Regions from separate parts of the Homo sapiens genome. Here region 2 is linked to region 1. The links are contacts of gene promoters, found by promoter capture Hi-C in human tissues and cell types (Jung and others, 2019). All regions are on one chromosome and are shown on one strand. Each heading gives the region's core, a stretch centred on a gene start or on the middle of the fragment in contact. The rest is flanking DNA. Distances are from core to core; before and after follow the strand shown. Region 1 holds the start of SNTA1 (syntrophin alpha 1). Region 2 overlaps ZNF341 (zinc finger protein 341).

The links. Contacts are between HindIII fragments. The study calls those that stand out against the background at their distance.
Region 2: a fragment that was not itself captured here is called in contact with the fragment with the promoter of SNTA1 in region 1 in 1 of the 25 tissues and cell types used here (H1 embryonic stem cells).

What each region holds. Positions count from the first base shown.
Region 1 is chr20:33,439,744-33,446,560 of GRCh38, forward strand. It overlaps SNTA1 (syntrophin alpha 1), which reads right to left and starts at 4,020. Exons shown (of 8, transcript NM_003098.3): 1 at 3,568-4,020. The coding sequence starts at 3,877. RefSeq lists silencers at 377-555, 3,566-3,625, 3,736-4,215 and enhancers at 4,446-4,515, 4,494-4,994, 4,966-5,025. The HindIII fragment of the contact is 21,074 bases long and covers 1-6,817 here.
Region 2 is chr20:33,784,402-33,791,218 of GRCh38, forward strand. It overlaps ZNF341 (zinc finger protein 341), which reads left to right. Exons shown (of 15, transcript NM_001282933.2): 13 at 4,462-4,573; 14 at 5,117-5,187; 15 at 6,587-6,817. ZNF341-AS1 (ZNF341 antisense RNA 1) reads right to left here. Exons shown (of 4, transcript NR_110623.1): 4 at 2,972-3,376. Among named protein-coding and RNA genes, the nearest start is that of ZNF341-AS1, 23 kb to the right of the region's middle. RefSeq lists a silencer at 1,276-1,325. The HindIII fragment of the contact is 3,237 bases long and covers 2,063-5,299 here.

The DNA.
Region 1 (6,817 bases), core at 2,770-5,269:
GGAGGCCAAGGTGGTCGGATCACTTGAGACCAGTAGTTTGAGACCAGCCTGGCCAACATAGCGAAATCCTGCCTCTACTAAAAACACAAAAAAGGGCCAGGTGCGGTGGCTTATGCCTGTAATCCCAGCACTTTGGGAGGCCAAGGCTGCCAGGTGGATCACCTAAGGTCAGGAGTTCGAGACCAGCCTGGCCAACATAGTGAAACCCTGTCCCTACCAAAAATACAAAAAATTAACTGGGCGTGGTAGCGGATGCCTGTAATCCCAGCTACTCGGGAGGCTGAGGCAGGAGAATCACTTGGACCCAGGAGGCGGAGGTTGCAGTGAGCTGAGATCACGCCATTGCTCTCTAGCCTGGGCAACAAAAGTGAAACTCTGCTCAAAAAAGTAAATAAATACATAATAAAAAAATAAACAAATAAAAAAATATGGCTGGGCGTGGTGGCTCACGCCTGTAATCCCAGCACTTTGGGAGGCCAAGATGGGCAGATCACCTGAGGTTAGGGGTTCAAGACCAGCCTGGCCAACATGGCAAAACCCCATCTCTTCTAAAAGTACAAACATTAGCCGGGCATGGGGGCGCATGCCTGTAATCCCAGTTACTCGGGAGGCTGAGTCAGGAGAATTGCTTGAACCGGGAGGCTGAGGTTGCAATGAGCCAAGATTGCACCATTGCACTCCAGCCTGGGCAATAAGAGCGAAACTCCATCTCAAAAAATAAATAAATAAATAAATAAATACAAACACAAAAAATTAGCTGGGCCTGGTGGCACATGCCTGTAGTCCCAGCTACTCAGGAGGCTGAGGCAGCAGAATTGCTTGAACCCAGGAGGTGGAGGTTGCAGTGAGCCAAGATCACACCACTGCACTCCAGCATGGGCGACAGAACAAGACTCCATCTCAAAATAAAACAAAAATACAAAAATTAGCCAGGCATGGCGGTGTGTGCCTATAATTCCAGCTACTCAGGAGGCTGAGGCACGAGAACTGCTTGAACCCAGGAGGTGGAGATTGCAGTGAGCCGAGATCGCACCACTGCACTCCACCCTGGGCAACAGAGCAAGACTGTCTCACACACACACACAAAAAGGCAACAATGTGGGAACCCACTGATACCCCTCAAACCGGAATCAAGAGACAAGTCGGCTATTCCTATGGCCTCAAAAGACTGCTTTAGCAATCATAATGTTTTACAATCCAAAGTCCAGGCTGGAAACCAAAGCCTTAGAGTCTAGAGATTCTAAAAACCTGCCTGAATGGCATCTTGGATACAAAAGAAGCTAATACATTTTACTAAACATCTTTATTACCAAACTCTTAAATGCCCTTTTAAAATAAGAAATAGTAATAAGAGTTCACCTTAGTTGCACTTACCAAATGCCAAGCACTGTGCTAAATGCTTTCAATGTTGATTCATTGCGTCTTTACAATACCCCATCACATAGGTATGTTCAGTTTCCTATTAGGGAAACTGAAGTGTGGAGGGAAGCCCCTTGTCCAAGGTCACTCCACTAGTAAGTAGCGAAGCCAGTATTTGCACCTAGGCCTCCAGGCTCCAGAACCAACACTATTAGCCCTACCACAGACGACAAGTCAGGCCCTCAGATATCACACTCCTGGCTCATCCCCAGAATACTGAAGATGAAGAATTAGTGGCCCAGAGTGGGAGGTCATTGTTCCAAGGTCACACAAGTCTGGTGGCGGAGCTGGGACTGGAACACCTCTCTTGACGCCCACACAGGCCCGACCGTTTGCTTATCTGCACAGAGCTTGAAGTCTAGGAGAGGAAGGGGTTTCTATTTATATCTGCCCTCCCCCACCTGAAACTAGGGGCTTCAGTTCAGTTTGAAGCTATGATCACTCATGGCTGCCTCAGACTAAGCTAGACTTTATAGGAGGGGTTACCATGGCAACAGGAGCCCAGATTTGGATCCAATGGAAATACCTGAAGTCTCCTAAAAGTACCCTCCCCTCCACCTAGAATTATGGAGCTGGGGAGTAACTTTGTGTGACCTTGCAAAGTCCCTGCTCCTCTCTGAGTCTCAGTGTGTCCATCTGCAGAATGGAATTCTGTATGAATAAGTTCCTTCCTGCTTTGACACACTGAGTGTATAATTTTTGGATTCATCTGTTGCCCTATCCCATGCTGGAGATTGGGGGTAAGACTGGTGCCCATACCCTCATTTTCTCATTTCTCCTTTTTAGCCCCTCTTGGTTGGCTGCCTGGGGATCTGCCCTTCTACAGGAAAGAATCAACTTCCCTGAGCACTCTCTGAGGGACAGTAGCTGATAATTAAGGTTCAAATCCCAGCACTGACACTCACTATGTAATCGTGGGAAAATCATTTTAACTTTCTGAGTCTCAGTTTCTTCACCTGCAATATGGGAATTATACTCCCTACCTTTCACCACTTGTTGCCAGGATGAAGTGGATCATGAGACTAGTGTCCTGGGCACAGCACCTGGCACACAGTGGTGGCATTCACCACCATCCCCACCGCCTCAGCCAAGCCAAACGGTCTGGAGGCACTAGTCAACAGAACCAGTACCAGGGAGACCCCAGAGGGTACGGTATGTATTCAAGGTGGAGACAAAGGCTGATACCCTTTCCCAAAGCACCTGCTGGGGGCTGGGACCCTGAGAAACAGATGGGCAGGAATAGTGAACCCAGCAGCTGGGGGTGTGCAAGGATTTTAACAACTATGTTTAGTTGCTTTGGGAGTATCTGCTGGCCTCCATTTTTCCTCTCCGCTAACAGCAGTAATTAACTAGGCACCTACAGTGTGCTGGTGTGGTGAGCCCTGCTCTCAGAAACATCACAACTCTGTCATCCTCTTATACAGTTGAGGAAACAGATTCAGAGGCGGGACGGGACTTTTGCAACCTCACACAGCTGATCCTGGATTCAAACACAGTCTGGTTGCACCCTAACTGCACCCCACTAGCGGTCAGTCCTGGGGGCTGAAAGCTCTATCCTGTGCAAGGTGGAGATAGTCAGATCAGGAGACCCAAATCCAGCTGTCAGGGCTCCCTGCAGCCTTCCTGGGTCCTTAGATTCCTAGGTCCTTGCTGGCCTTCTGCCTGTGACCCCAGCCTGTGCCTGCACCCAGGCCTCCTATCCACCCCTGTGCTTCCCAGACTCCAGGCTTCCCCTCTGCACCCACCTTGGTTGCTTCTCAGGGACTCCCTCCTCCCTGTCCCACTGGTGTCCCGGCCTCAACCCCCTTTCTCCACACTCTGCTTTCCGGGGGACCCCTCTTGTCCTTGATGTTCATGCTGGTTACCCCTCAGACCCCCCCGCCTCCACACAGAACTCCCACCCACGTGTCCTTGGTGCTCCCACAATCTTATCCACACCTGTGTCTTCCGTGCCCCCTAAGGCCACCAACTACTGAAACCCCCTCCAACCTTGGTGTGCCCAGTGCCCTCCGTTACCTGTTTCCTCAGACCCCCCTTACCCCCAGACAGGAAGCCTCCAGCTCCATGTCCTGGGCGCGCTGCCAGCCCCCTGCGCCCTCGGCTGCCCCCAGACACCACGACCCCGCGCCCTCGGTGTCCCGCGCCCACCTTTGATGCTGATGCCCAGCCCACCGGCGTCGGCCTTGCGCACCGTCACGCGGCGCCGCTGGAGCAGTAGCGCCTCTGGCAGCTGCGGGGGCCCGGCGCCCGGCTCCGCGGCGCCGTTGAGCTGCGCGGGCTCCTGCTCCCGCGGAGCGCCGGGCTCGGGACCAGGGTCGCCGTCGGCGGGGCTCACGGTCAGCACGTCCTCCGCCAGACTCAGCAGCACCCGCTGCCATCGCTCGCCGCCGGCCCCCGAGCCCGCCCCGGCGCGCAGCTCCAGCAGCCCGGTGCGCGGGGCGCGCCTGCCGGACGCCATCTTCGCCTCCGAGCCCCCGGGCCGCCGCGCTCGCCCTGTCCCGCTTTGCCCAGCCCGCTCCGACCAAGCGCCCAGGGCAGAGGGCAGCGGGGGCCCGGCTGGGCCAGCCGCCACCCTACCCCGGCCGCTGGGGGAGGAGCTCTGGGGGCGGGGCTACCCTGGGGTGTGGCCAGTGCTGGGGAGGGGGCCTCGGGCAAATGCAGGAGGCCGGGGCGGGGCCCGGGAGCCGAGGGCCGCCGTGTGGGACTACCTAGCGGGGTGGGTCAGAAGGGCGGCGGGGCGGGCCACTAAGTAAGGCGAAAGCCCGGGAGGCGTGGTGCTGGGCGGGGCGTCAGGGGGCGGGGCTTCGCGTCGGGGGCGGAACCCAGTGAGCCCGCGCAGGGGGCTCGGCGCTCGGAATGCCCATCGAGGGCCGGGACTGTAACTCCCGGACGTGGGAGCGCATGAAAAAGAGACAGAACCACGTATCCTGGTGCGAAGCACTGGGCATCGGGCTGGGCTGCATATGGCGGAGGGCTGGGCTGCGTATGGTAGAGCGTTGGACTCCAAGGCTTGAGTTTAAGAGGTAGACACCGTCTGGGCGTGGAGGCTCACGCCTGTAATCCCAACACTTTGGGAGGCCTAGATGACAGCCCAGAAGCTCGAGGCTGCAGTAAGCCGCGATCGCGCCACTGCACTCCAGCCTGGGTGACAGAGCGAAACCCTGTGTCAAAAAAAAAAAAAAAAAAAAAAGGTAGATGCTGAGCCGCGAGAGACCTTGCGGGCACAGTTGCTAGTTGGGGAGCTGAGGAAGAAGTTGGTTTCCTATCGGGGAGGGCGGGGGATGGGGGGTGGGGGTCGAGGCTTTGGTCTGTGGGCGTGGCTTATCGCTGGCGTGGCTTCTAAAGATGACAGGCCCCGCCCCCTGGAGGAGACCGCTACCGACACCGCTTAGGGCTTGGGGGAGGTGTGGGCAGGATCCCCACTTCAAAACTGGAGGGAAGTTTAAGAGATTAACCCCTGGCTGTGTTCACAGTCGAGTATAGAAAAGCCTGAAGTCCCACACTTTGAGGCCTGGCAGAAAAAAAACAGAACTGGTGTGTGGGAAGAGGGTTGCAAGGTGGGGCTCTGGGTCTGGGCGACTGGAGACATGGTTTCTAATCTTTGCTGCCTCTGTTAGCTCCAAGTCGACTTTGGTCCCCTCACGTCACTGCTCTAGGCCTCAATTTCCTCATCTGTAAAATGTGGATCATAATAATACCTACTTCACTGGGCTGGTGTGAGGATTAAATCAATGTGAAAACACGTGGTAAACTGTGACTCCCTATTCTATAGAAATAATCACTTTCATTTAGTGAATGCTTACTCTTACCTAGGGCTGGCAGAATATTTTCCAAGTGTTATCTTTACATTAGCCTCCTGGAGTAGCTAAGAGCACCCCCAGCTGGGCACAGTGGCTCACACCTGTAATCACAGCTGAGGTGGCAGGATCGCTTGAGCCTTGGAGGTCCAGGCTGCAGTGAGCTGTGATTGCACCATCACACTCCAGCCTTGGTGACAGAGCAAGAAAAAAGAGCACCCCTATTATACAGAAGGGAAAACTTGGATTTAGTCTAATTGGCCTAGGTCACACATTTATGAGTGAGGAAGAGCTGCGATTCAAACCCAGGCCTGTTTGACACCAGTGCCTGGGCACTGAACCACTCTGCTAGACAGCTGACAAATACAGAGGTAAAGCATGATTGTAATCTGAAAAATCCACCACATCACACAGCTCAACTGGCCTTCATACCTGCTCCTTGTCTCTATCCTCCATTCCTAGCTGGGATATGTTGAGCAATAAATAAGTAGGACTACACCAGTGTTTAGCCTCCCTGAACTTTTGGGTAAAATCCTCCACATAAGATACCATCAAGAAAAAAAAGAGGGGGCCAGGTATGGTGGCTCATGCCTGTAATCCCAGCACTTTAGGAGGCCGAGGCAGGTAGATCACGAGGTCAGGAGTTTGAGACTCAGCCTGGCCAACATGGTGAAACCCCATCTCTACTAAAAATATAAAAAAATTAGCCGGGCGTGGTGGCAGACACCTATAATCCCAGCTACTCAGGAGGCTGAGGCAGGAGAATCACTTGAACCCGGGAGGCGGAGATTGCAGCAAGCAGAGATTGCACCACTGCACTCCAGCCTGGGTGATAGGGTGAGACTCCGTCTCAAAAAAAAAAAAAAAAAAAACCAACAACAAAAAAAAGGAATTGTTTTAAGTTAGAGTGGTAGGTGTCAAAACAGGAGAGACACAGGTTTTAAAAAAAGAACCCAGGGTCTTTTATACATATATATATGGGATGCCGAGGAGGAATGATCACTTGAGGCTAGGAGTTTGAGACCACTTGGGCAACTTCACGAGACTCCATCTCTACAAAATAAAGAAATTAGCCAAGCGTGGTAATGTGCACCTGTACTCCCAGCTACTTAGGAAGCTGCAGCAGGAGGCCTGTTTGAGGCTGCTGCTGTGAGCCACAATCATGCCACTGCACTCCAGCCTGGGTGACAGAGCAAGACCCTGTCTCAAAAATAAATAAAAGAAAGTGAGAGGAAGGAAGGAGAGAAGGGAGGCAGGGAAGGAATATAGCATTGTATATAAGCATTGATATCTTAAAAGTATGACTGTGCTTAAAGATTGTAGGACAGCCTGAGGAATTTGGGGTAAGCACTTGTGATAAATAACTACAGCCTACTTGGCTTGTGGAAGCTTCACTCCAATGGTAGAGAAGGGAGGGGAGGACAGACCTGGCAGGAGGCAAGAGACCAGCAGGGAATTGAAGCTCCTTTCCCAAGACCAAAGCCTGGAACCAGATCCTTAAAAGTCCCCCCACGTACTGCCCTGCTTAAAAAAGACTTAATGAGGCCCAGACAAACTTACTGAGAAAGAGCCCTAAGAGAGGGCTTCTCCTCTGGGGGACA
Region 2 (6,817 bases), core at 2,431-4,930, 340 kb after region 1:
CCTCCCCTGTCCTCTCCCCTCTCCCTCCAGCCCCCTCCCCCTCCTCTCTGTCGCTGTCTGTCTCCCTCCAGCCCTCCTGCCTCTCCCCTTGCTCCTCCTTCCTCTCTCCTTCCTGGCCCCTGATCCACCTGCCTTAATTCATGAACAAGGGATTCCCACCACCGCTAAAGCAGAGAAGAGCCCCTGGAGGTTGTGTGGAAGGGACTTTTTATTCTTTTTTTTTTTTTCTTTGAGACAAAGTCTCGCTCTTGTTGCCCAGGCTGGAGTGCGGTGGCAGATCTTGGCTCACTGCAACCTCTGCCTCCCGGGTTCAAGTGATTCTCCTGCCTCAGCCTCCTGAGTAGCTGGGATTACAGGCTCCCACCACCATGTCCAGCTAGTTTTTTGTATTTTTAGTAGAAACAGGGTTTTGCCATGTTGGCCAGGCTGGTTTCGAACTCCTGACCTCAGGTGATCCTCCTGCCTCGGCCTCCCAAAGTGCTGGGATGACAGGCGTGAGGCACTGCACCCAGCCTGTGTGAGGGACTCTTGACTCTGCCCCCTGTGGTGGGGACACTGCTCTCACTGTAAGTTCCCACTCAAACCTGAACAAAACGCCATCTCCTTGGTTCCCCAGTTGAAACACACTGACATTTTCTTTTCTATTAATCTTTAGATTTTTTTATTAGTTAAATTTTTTAATTGCTTTTTAATTGAAAAGGATCTAAAGATTGAGAAAACTTGAGGGAAAATCCTTGACGGGACAAAAGCATATATAAAAAAATAAACTCCCTCTCACTTCAGATGGACAATCCAATGTTTTTCCTTTTTTTTCTTTCCTACGACCTATGGTAAAAAATACATTTCATATTGCAACCCAGGAAGCACACATAGGATGTATTGCAACAAAAGTTTTACAAAACAGTGTTTTCTATTTTGTCCTTTTCAATTTTAGTTTTTTTATTTTTTATTTTTATTTTGAGACAGGGTCTCACTCTGTCACCCAGGCTGGAGTGCAATGGTATGATCTCACTACAACCTCCGCCTCCCAGGTTCAAGCCATTCTCGTGCCTCAGCCTCCCGAGTAGCTGGGATTACAGGCGCCCACCACATGCCTGGCTAATTTCTGTATTTTCAGTAGAGACGGGGTTTCACCATGTTGGCCAAGATGGTCTCAAACTCCTGGCCTCAGGTTACCCACCCACCTTGGCCTCTCAAAGTGCTGGGATTACAGATGCAAGCCACCACACCCAGCCTATTTTTAATTCTTAAAATAACCACCAACAGGGTGTAACTTGTGGTTTGCAGTTTGCAAAATACTCCTAATTCTCTTCCCCAAAGGTAACTGTTAGCGGTCTAGTCTGCATTCTTCTAGTTTTATTTTACACATATATAAAACGCTTGCTTACGTTTGCAAAAATGAGCACATACTATAACTTATGTGCCTTTTTTTCCTTATCATATACCTTGGCGATGTTCCCCAAGGAATGTGTGCTTACAGTTCCCCTGGAGGCTAAATTCTGTGGGTCCCCCTCCCCCGGGCCCCCCCCAGAAGTTGTTACCAACAGCACCTTCTTTTTCACATCTGAGTAGTCTTCCTCAATGAATTTTTCATCTTGTATTTAGCCAGTTCTCTATGTATGAACCTTTTTTTTTTTTTTTTTTTTTTTTGAGACTGAATGGCACGATCTTGGTTCACTGCAACCTCTGCCGCCTGAGTTCAAGCAATTCTCCTGCCTTAGCCTTCCAAGTAGCTGGGATTACAGGTGTGCACCATCACGCCCAGCTAATTTTTGTATTTTTAGTAGATATGTGGTTTCACCATGTTGGCCAGGCTGGTCTCGAACTCCTGACCTCAAGTGATCCCCCCGCCCCAGCCTCCCAAAGTGCTGGGATTACAGGCATGAGCCATCACGCCCAGCCTATGTATGAACCGTTAAATTACATTTCAGCTATTAGTTTGTACACACAATGCTGTGTGGGTCCCTTGGCAAGCTTTTGGAAGTGTATCTGTAGTGTATATTCTTAGGAGTGGAAATGCTAGGTTAAAATGCATGTGTAATACTGAGTTTCAGTTTGGGATGATGAAAAAATTCTAGAGACAGATGATGGTGATGGTTGCATGATGGTGCAAATGTACTTATGCCACTGAACTATACACTTAAAAGAAGCTTAAGATGGTCAATTTTCTGTTATGTATATTTCTCCACAATAAAGAAGGGAAAAGAAGTAATGCATTGTAAGTTTGATATTACCAAATTGCTCTTTATGGCTTTTAAAAATTATTATTCAAAAGTAATACATGCTGCCAGGCGCGGTGGCTCATGCCTGTAATCTCAGCACTTTGGAAGGTGAAGGTGGGTGGAGCACCTAGGTCAAGAGTTTGAGACCAGCCTGGCCAACGTGATGAAACCCCGTCTCTACTAAAAATACAAAAATTAGCCGGGTGTGGTGGTACGCACCTGTGATCCCAGCTACTCAGGAGGCTGAGGCAGGAGAATTGCCTGAACCCAGGAGATGGAGGTTGCAGTGAGCCAAGATCAAACCACTGCACTCCAGCCTGGGCAACAGAGCAAGACTCTGTTTCAAAAAAAAAAAAAAAAATACAAAAAACGAAACAAAACAAAACAAAAAAAACCACACAAATAATACATGGTTATTATAAAAATGGAAACAATATAGGAGTACATAAAGTAAAATGTTAAATTTCCCCTTCAAGTTGTAGTTGCCACTGACACTTTGGTCTGTCCTTTCCCTACACCTCCCCATCTTTCTTCCTGCATCTTCAGTTTATTTACAGAGACACATGGCCAGGGCTTTTTTGGGGTGTGCAGGTTGTATTTTTTCTTTCTTTTTTTTTTGTTGGAGCTTACATATCCAGTAGGGATTATATTTTTTTCTAAGAAAGACGAGATTGTGTTAAGCTGTTCTACTGCTTTCTTTCCCCACTAGCAGTATGTCCAGGAGATCTTTCCAGATCAGGAAACACAGATTGACCTTTTTAATCTTTTTAATGACCACAGAGCATTCTATTGTAGGGACCAGCATTTCCGTATCGACTGGGTTGATGGTTTTTCAGAAGTACTTTATTCATTCCAGAGGGAGAACAGAGAGGAAATAATGGCAGGAAGTCACAGCAGCCCAGAAACAGCCCCTTCCAAAGGGCAGGCTGTGACCCCACGGCAACTTTGCAGGCACCTCCCTTGATTTCCTGTGGGTTCCTCAGGTAGCCCATCAGGCAAGAGCTGCCCCAGGACGGGTTTAACAGCAGGAAGATCTGGGTAGCTCAGATGGGCTCTGGATCACGCTGCTGGGCTGGAATCTTAGCTCCCGCAACCATAGGGGTAGCCCCTGAGCCAGTCCCTTCACCTCTCTGAACTTCAGTCTTCTTTCTTATCTGTGAAACAGGGATGATGGGAGTCAGTGCCTCCTGGTTTTTTGGAAGGATTCAGTTAGATAAGGTGTGATTCCTCGTCCCCCAGGGTGGACCGCATTGCCAGAAATGACATGAGGCCACCTTGCTTCTCAGGCCGTGCCTCATCCTTGACTCCTCTCCTCCTCTCACAGTCACAGCCAGTCCAGTGGCAAGGGCTGCCGACTGTGCCTTCCCAACATGGCTGTCCTGGGCCACTTCCTGGTTATCCTCACCTCCACCCTCATTCGAGCTGGTTAAAAGCTTACATCAGAGTCCATCCCTCTGCTGTTCAGACCTTCTGGTGCTTCTCTTCTGGCTCAGAGTAAAAGCCAAAGTCCTGGCTGGGCGCGGTGGCTCATGCCTGTAATCCCAGCACTTTGGGAGGCCAAGGCAGGTGGATCACTTGAGGTCAGGAGTTCGAGACCAGCCTGGCCAACATGGTGAAACCCCCCATCTCTACTAAAAATACAAAAATTAGCTGGGCGTGGTGGCACACACCTGTAATCCCATCTACTCAGGAGGCTGAGGTAGGAGGATTGCTTGAACCCAGAAGGCAGAGGTTGCAGTGACTCACCTGAAATCTTGCCACTGCACTCCAGCCTGGGTGACAGAGCAAGGCTCTGTCTCAAAAAAAATAAATAAATAAAAGCCAAGTCCTTAGCTCTGCCTCCCAGGTCCTCCCATGCGGACCTGGCTGGCTCGCTGCCCTCACCTTCTGCCTTGTTCTCTGGCCACACCAGCCTCCCTGTTGTTCATCAGCACCGCCAAACGCACTCCTGCCTCAGGGCCTTTGTACCTGCTTTCCCTGCTGCCCAGACCATCTCCCTGATGACCTGAGGTCTCTCCTCATGCATGGCCTCATCAGAGAGGCCTCTCCTGACCATCCTGTCAAAATAGCCCTGTCTTGTCTCTGGCAAAACAAAGCCACTGAAGAATGAGAGAGGCTATTTTCTCCCCTGGCCACCTCCCTAGAGGAGCTGCTCCCCTGAGGGGCCCAGCGGGGACCCTTGTGCCCTGGATGCCGACTCCTGGTGAGTGCTGGCTCTCCCTGTCTGTGTCTGCTGCAGGTGAGAAGCCCTACAAATGCTCAGTGTGCGAGTCTGCGTTCAACCGCAAGGACAAACTGAAGAGACACATGTTGATCCACGAGCCCTTCAAGAAATACAAATGCCCTTTCTCGTGAGTAGAGACTGCCATGCAGGGGGGTGGGTAGCGGGACAGATTCTCCAGGGGTGCTGCTGGGGAGGGTGGGACAGATGTCAGGCCTGAGGGCAGGCCTCTCCTTTTTTTTTTTTTTGGAGACATAGTCTCACTCTGTCATCCAGGCTGGAGTGCAGTGGTAAGATCTTGTCTCACTGCAACCTCTGCCTTCTGGGTTCAAGCGATTCTCTTGCCTCGGCTTCCCAAGTAGCTGAGATTACAGATTTAGTAGAGATGGAGTTTCGCCATGTTGCCTAGGCTGGTCTCGAGCTCCTGACCGCAAGTGATCCATCCACCTCGGCCTCCCAAAGTGCTGAGATTACAGGCGTGAGCCACTGTGCCTGGCCAGGCCTCTCTCCTTTTATCCTGTCCTGGGCCCTGCCTGCCTCACTTCCCACCCTACCTCCTTGCCCAGCCCTTAGGGTGGACAAGGCTGTCCCTTGTGCCCAGGGCTAGTGGAGGGGCCAGCAAGAGGATCCTAAGCTTGGTGAGCTCCCCCTGACCAGTGGCTTTGGGTTTTAGGACGCACACAGGCTGCAGTAAGGAGTTCAACCGGCCGGACAAGCTGAAGGCCCACATCCTCTCCCACTCTGGTAAGTGGCTCTTGGGCCTGCTAAGAGGGTCTGGTTCAGCTCTAGTTCACTGGGATAGACCCGCCAGGAAGAGAAAGAGCAGACATATCCTGTGAGGCTTGTTTTCCCTGCCTGGCACATTCCAGCCAGCACTTTCACTTATGTGGGCTATGAGCCAGGCCTGTGTTAGGGACTTAAGGGTGAACAGAGATGAATCAGACACAGTCCCCCAGTCCAAGGAGGAAGCTGACCTGAGCAGAGATGACTCAGTTGGAGCAGTGCCCAGTGTAATAGAGGTGTGGACGAGGTGTGGAGGGAATCAGATTCCAGCCAGGTCCAAGACATGGCCAGGAAGCTTCTTTGATAGGGCAGGGCAGGGGTCTCCAAGCCACTCCTCAGTTTCTCAGCGCCTCCTCAGAGCAGCCTGGCTGGCTTTCCACATGCCAGCCGAGGTCTAAAACAAGGTTCTTCAACCCTGGCACCATTGACAATTTGGGCCAGATAATTTTTTTTTTTTTTTTTTGAGACGGAGCCTCCCTCTGTCACCCAGGTGGAGTGCAGTGGTGTGATCTTGGCTCATTGCAACCTCTGCCTCCCAGGTTCAAGCGATTCTCTTGCCTCAGCTTCCCAAGTAGTTGGGATTACAGGTGCCTGCCACCACACCCAGCTAATTTTTGTATTTTTAGTAGACATGGGGTTTTCACCATGTTGGCTAGGCTGGTGTCGAACTCCTGACCTCAAGTGATCTGCCCGCCTTGGCCTCCCAAGGTGCTGGGATTACAGGTGTGAGCCACCGGCGCCTGGCCTGTAATCCTGTAGATAATTTTGTCCTGGGGGCTGTCCTGTGCCCTGTAGGATTTTTAGCAGTATCCCTGGCTTCTATCTACTGGTGTCAGTGGCATCCCCCCACAGTTGTGACAACCAAAAATGTCTCTAGGCATTGCTGAGTCCTCTGGGGGGTAAAGTCTCCCTTGTTTGAGAAGGTTTACAGAAAGGAGTCAGTCACTAAAGAAAGTGTGAAAACTGGGAGAGTAGGTCAATGACTTGGACACACAGGGCTGGGTTGGAGTCTTAGTGCTGCCATGTTCCTGTGGGTGGCCTCAGGCGTCACGGCCCCTCCCTGAGCCTGAGATGACCTGGCAAAGCGAGCCAAGGTGCAGAGAGTGAGCAGCTGTTCCAGGCAGAGGAGAATGGCAAGTACAAAGGCGCAGAGGGAGGAGCCAGCGTGGCATCTCTGAGGAGAGCGAGTGTGGCTGGCGCAGAGAGTGGCTGGAAGAAGGCAGACGACGAGGGTGGAGAGAGCTGGGGCCAGATCACACAGGTGCTGGTGGGGAAAGAGCCTGGATTTTATTCCCAGCGCAGGGCACTGTTGCGGGGTGAAGGTCTGGATGCTTCTCACTGACTTTCCCTTGCCCTCCAGGCATGAAGCTCCACAAATGCGCCCTGTGCAGCAAGTCCTTCAGCCGCCGTGCCCACCTCGCCGAGCATCAGCGCGCCCACACGGGCAACTACAAGTTCCGCTGTGCTGGCTGCGCCAAGGGCTTTTCCCGCCACAAATACCTCAAAGATCACCGCTGTCGTCTCGGCCCCCAAAAGGACAAGGACCTGCAAACCCGGCGGCCCCCCCAGAGGAGGGCAGCCCCCCGCAGTT